2 separate regions of the Homo sapiens genome follow, and region 2 is linked to region 1. The links are contacts of gene promoters, found by promoter capture Hi-C in human tissues and cell types (Jung and others, 2019). All regions are on one chromosome and are shown on one strand. The core of a region is centred on a gene start or on the middle of the fragment in contact, and the rest is flanking DNA. Distances in the headings are between cores, read along the strand shown.

Region 1 (2,700 bases), core at 4-2,503:
AGGCGGGACTCCCCAGAGGTAAAAGACACTGCAGCTCAAGCCTTGTGCTGCCCGGGGACCCGGCAGAACGGACAGAAGGGAGTGAGCAGGAGCATCCTTCTAGGGGCATCCTGAGTCCAGGGGGTTCTTCTACACCCACCCCAGTCCTGGCTGTGAACCCCTCCAGCAAAGCAGGCAAAATGGAAGAGGGACATAGGACACGGTGATATATCGCTAGCACGGTGCTTCATCTGTCTACAGGCAGTGGACGCAAAGGAAGGGGGATTTAGGGTTCGTGCTCCAGGCTGGTGGGGCCCTGGCTCCCCTCTAGCTTGGTCCCTGACTCACTTGGCCTTCAGATCAGCCACTTCCCATCTCTTAGGATATCAATTTTTCTGACTTGCTTTGTCCTGATTGGTTAAGAAAGAGGCCTCCAAGTTCTTGAATGACAGTCTCTTCCCTTCGCATGCCTGACCCATCACAGATAAGAGCAAGGAGCCCTGAGAAGCCAAGCTCGTCCCTGGCACTGAGAACGGTCTGCAGGCTGCTGCTGCAGGCTGCCCTGTGCCCAAACTCCCAGCCTGCCAACTCTGGCATTCTGCTTCCCTAAGTAGTCCTGGCGTCGGGTGGTCAGACCCTGAGGCTCAGTGACCTCTGCATGACCATGTGATCCCTGGCTTTGTGGGGGCTCAGGGCCCTTTCCTGTAGGGTCATCTGGCACATGGACATGCCTGTGTACCCTTCTTTCGTATGACCGAGAGAAGGGTTCGGTTTTTCCTTCTCTCAGGCAGGATGGGAGACTCTGCCTCGCATGTCTCTAAAACAGGAGAAAGACCAGCTTCCCAGGGGGGCCTCCATCGGAACAGAAGTCAGCCGCTTGCTCTGTGTCTGCGCCTGTCCCTCTTTCCCCAGATGGAGGGGAAGAGAGGAGAGAGGCACAGAAGACAGGTGCAGCCGGGGGGGTGAGGGAGAGCCTGGAGGCGCAGGATGGAAGATGGAGGTGGTGGTGAAACCGCTTTCCTCCTCCCTGTGGTCGGCAGCGATTCATCCACAGGCGCCTTTTTCCACTGAAATGTGAGCGTGGCCAGGGTGAGCGCTGCCCTCGCGGCCGGCCGTGGTGCCTCTGGTGTGCGCCTGTGTGTGCTGCTGCCGCTGTCATCACAGATGCACCCCAGCTGTCACTCCCCGCTCCACTCTGGCTCGCTGCTCGCGCACACGCGTGCGCTCTCCTCCCTCGCCCCTTTCTTCCCTCTCTCCTCTCTCTCTCTCCCTCCATCCCTCTCTTTCCTTCTCAGTTTGTGACTGACCCAGCAGCCCCGTCCCCCGTCTGCCACAAGCAGTCCACCTCCTGGTGCTGTGTGCTGCGTGCCAGCCGCTGCTCCCGCTGAGTGGAGACTCTGGCACCAGTGCCCACTGCGCTCTGCCTGCCGGTGGTGTCTGGATTTCTATAGGAATCCCAGGAGGGTCTTACTGGAGGGTTGAGAGCCACCTGATTGAAGGCGTTTGCAGTCAGAGTAAAGACGGGTGAGTACCGAGTGGCTGGTAGGAAGGAATGGAGGGTTGGTGGGGACAGGGGGTGGTCGGGGCATGGGAAGTGGGCACCGGCCATCTCTGCCCTGCAGGAATAGCTGCAGTTGCTTCCTACCTGCAGGCAATTGCTGGGGCCGAAGAAGCTGCTCGGGCTCAGGCACCTGAGCATCCCAAAGGTGCACGACACTGGGAACTCTGAGCCCACAGTGCTGGGGACAAGAGCTGTGGATTCTGCTGGGAAGTGGGGAGGAGGGCAGCGCTGGCGCCAGATGACAGTCCCGGGTGGCATAGAAACCGGTCCCTGCAGCATGGGAGAAGCAGCCAAGAGCCTTGTGCTGTCGTTGTGCCCGGCTCTGCACAGACAGCCCCAAGAAACTCGGGGGTCATGGGAAGCGGTTGGGATGGCAGTCAGGTGCTGGGGACAGGGCCAGGTCAGAGGAAGGCTTGGGGTGGAGGGTGGCAGGGAGGAGGTCCTGGATGTCAGAGGCATGGGCACAGACCCAGGTCCTGGGCCTCCCTATAGCTTGCCTGCAGGTGGCTGTCCTTGGACAAGGGTGTGGAGGAACCCTCCCCCAGATGAGCATGGGCCCACTCAGCTGTGCATGAAGCCTCCCTGGTGAGGGTGAGGCTGGGAGTGGGCAGGAGAGAGAAGTATCGCAGCCCTTCCCTGCTAGCCCAAGGGCAAGACAGGAGAACCAGGCCCGCGAGAACCTGCTGGGGTGTCCCGCAGCTGTGCACCCAGCCGTCCATCTGCAAATGGGTCAGGGAGCCTTAGTGGGGGCTGGACACTGAGCTTGGGTGGGGGGTACACAGCGGGGCCAGGCCTGCCTGGCTTCTTGACCCACACAGGGGGCATGGACACCCTGAGTAGAGCGGGACAGTTGCTCTCAATCCCCCAGACCCATTTGGACAGTGCTGGAGAGAGGAGCAGCCTGACCAGGAGTCGGAAGTTCACATTCCTGCACCTCCCTGCAGGTCTGGGGCTGGGTTCCAGTTGGCGGCCCTGTCTCTCCCCCACCCCCAAGCTGTCCACATTTCTGGGGGGTGTTGGCACCCGGCTGTCAGGGCTACTTGGGCAGTGTCTCTTTGTGACTCAGATGACACCCCTGCAGCTTAGATAACTGCCTCAGGTGGGGGCGGGGAGGGAGCCGAGCACGTGGAGCTGAGGCGGGGGAAGTCCAGCTGGTAGGG
Region 2 (2,700 bases), core at 181-2,680, 130 kb before region 1:
GGGTCAAATTCACAATCCAGAAATGCCTGTATTGTTTCTGATGTGCTGAGGAGGTGTACAATTGTCTTCCTTGATTTCAACCTCAAAAGCTTTACATCTTTACCTGGGAACATAGAAGTCATTATTATTATGTCTTTCACAAATTATGTAAACTTAAAAAAATTATATTTTCAATGTAAACCACTCCTTGGAGGAAATTAGTTCCTTTAACATTTATTTCCTAATTTTAATTTCTACTAGTTTTATCTCTTTCAAGCTTAAATGAGTGGGCCTTAGTTCTGTATTATTGCCATCTTAATCATGTTCTTTGTGATTTTAGTAGCTTTACTTTTTAAAACTTACATTTCCATAATGAAGACTTCTGTATTTTTGTTTTTTTCGTCATATATCCGACTCCAGCTCCCTCAAGACCTGTCAGCTTTTCCCTGCACCCTTTGTTATCTCTTGCTGTGGTCCAAAGGTAAGGACAGTAAGCCGTGGGCACAGACTTTCCCTAAATCGTATGGATTTCCTTTAGTCAATAACAAGAATTTTGATAGTTAAGGCATTTACGCCTTAAGAATGTGATAAATTCCCCCTCCTACTGAATGTAAAGAACTATTTTTCTACGCAGACTAACTCTTATATTCACTTTTCTTATAGAATAAGTACGTAACCAAATCTGTTCTTGGCTTCTAAGAAGTTAGAACTCAACGTAAAGATGACTTGTGGAAAATTACTTACTCATTCTGGGTAAATGGACGCAGGTATTTAGTGCTTAAGTAGGTTCTGATATACCATTACATTAACATCATTTTAAAAATCGCTCTGAATTATATGTATTTTAAGAGTGACTGGGTTTTAAAAAAAATAGAAGTGGTAGAGCATAAATCATAATCTTTAATAAGGTAATAAAAGGCAAACACTATTGCTCTGGGCAAAACTGGGCTAATGCTTTTGGATTTCTTTCCGCAGTCTTCACAGACGACGCTCAGCATCCTATCAGCCCTTGGCAGAGACACACGATCCAGCCTAAATCCTCAAATTCTGGCTCTTGCCCAAAGTGTGTAGCCAGTATCCATAGAGACTGCGAAAAGCATCCGCGAGCCGGGGCGGCCCCCTCCTCCTCAGCTCCAAATTGCTTCCTTTTTCGGTGGGAGAAAAAACTCCGAGGAGTTGTGTGAGCGCCTAAGGAGCGCACGCTCCTCCGGCCCTCAACACCCAGTATAGTTTTCGCTAAGTTCCTGGCCGAACCACAGCTCCCACGATGCACCCAGGTTTTAGAGCGGTCAGAGGGGCGGCTTCCGGTTTAGGACAGCGCGGCTGCGCACGGCGTGTGGTCTTATTGGCTCGAACCGCCTCGTGCGATGCGCGTCACGGCGACGTGCGGTCGTGGGGGCGGGGAGACGCGGCGGCGGCGGTCGCTGTCGCGGCGGCGAGAGCGCGATTCCAGAAGCGGCATCGCGGCGGCGGCAGCGGCGGCGGCTACACCGGGCTTGGCCCCCTCCCTCCTCCGTTCCCCCCTCCTCCCCCCTCCCCTCAGCGGTGGCTCCCAAGAAGTCCGAGACACGCGGTGAGGCGGCGACGGGCTCCGGGTGAGGGTCTCTGGAGTGTGGGCGCCGTTTCCTGGGCGCAGAGGGAGAGCTTGGGGTCGGGGGGAGGTGAGAGCTGAGGGGCGAATGTCCCTGGCGCGGGCGGGAGAGCGCGCTCTCGGCCCGGCCCGCAACTTGATTCCTAACTCTGACCTGCCGCCCGGCGCGCCTTGGCCTGAGGGTCGGCCGTGTGGGGACCTGGAGCCGCCCTCCTTGCGACCGCTGTCGGAGGAGTCCGGCGCCCGCTGTTCCCCTCGCCTCGCCTTTCGCGGCGGAGGGTCGGAGCCTGCTGCCCTCTGCTCACCTTCGGGTGCAGTTGCTCCAGCTCCCTGCCCGCGGAGAGGATCTGCCCGCCCCTCTTCGTCTCTTGTCTGTTTTTATCACTTCTAGGAATTTGTTTGGTGGAGGCTTGGGATGGGCTCTCTCAGCGCTACTTTCACAGTGACTGGGGTGGGGAAGAGTTCCCTCACCTTTTTCAGGTGGCGCGTCAGGCAGCCTGCTTGGTACCTGGAGTCCTGTTTTCCCAAGCCCCCGTCCGTCAGTGTTCGCTTCTTCTAAAATTACCGATGACAGGGTTATAAATCAGTTTTTAGGGGGCTCGGAGAGAGTTTGGGTTGGAAACTGTTAGCTCTTTTTTCCTCCTGGCTTTTGATCTTGATTTAAGCGTTTGCCTCTGAAATTTTGACAACTTCATAAGATGGTCCAAAAGTGAATTTTGGTAGAAAGATTTAAATGCACAGTTGGGATTTTATGGGGGTACGGTGACTTCATTGCAGGTTGTTGACTTTTTTTTTAAAATAAGATGTTCTTTTAATTTTTTGACTCTGGGTTTCTGAGCCTTGGTTATTGTCCCCCATTTCTGTTCCAAAAGCAGACTTTTTTTTTTTTTATCACCCCTTCCCCTCACCCAGAGAATCCCTTTAAACGCCAAGAAAGCTGTCATAACATTTAGCATTATTTGATCACAGAACTTTTCCAAATGAAATGCTAAAAATTCCTTCAGAAAAAAGCATCCATCTACCCATAGCATTATTTTTTGGGGGGAGGCTATACGTCTTGTCAGTTCTGAAAGTTTGAAGTGACCTCTTATCAAAGGCCACCCTTATGTCTCCTTAAACGACTCTTAGGT

Evidence for each region. The method cuts DNA at HindIII sites, captures the fragments that hold promoters and counts their contacts. A contact is called where the count stands out against the background at its distance.
Region 2: a contact is called between the fragment with the promoter of ADIPOR2 here and the fragment with the promoter of LRTM2 in region 1, in 2 of the 25 tissues and cell types used here (mesendoderm cells and pancreas).

Annotation. Positions count from the first base shown.
Region 1 is chr12:1,819,312-1,822,011 of GRCh38, forward strand. It overlaps LRTM2 (leucine rich repeat transmembrane protein 2), which reads left to right and starts at 1,254. Exons shown (of 5, transcript NM_001039029.3): 1 at 1,254-1,503. All of the region lies in intron 26 of CACNA2D4 (calcium voltage-gated channel auxiliary subunit alpha2delta 4), which reads right to left. RefSeq lists an enhancer at 824-1,570. The HindIII fragment of the contact is 8,239 bases long and covers 1-2,700 here.
Region 2 is chr12:1,689,640-1,692,339 of GRCh38, forward strand. ADIPOR2 (adiponectin receptor 2) reads left to right here and starts at 1,431. Exons shown (of 8, transcript NM_024551.3): 1 at 1,431-1,552. RefSeq lists enhancers at 934-1,093, 1,114-1,163, 1,247-1,825 and silencers at 1,324-1,623, 1,644-1,733. The HindIII fragment of the contact is 10,259 bases long and covers 1-2,608 here.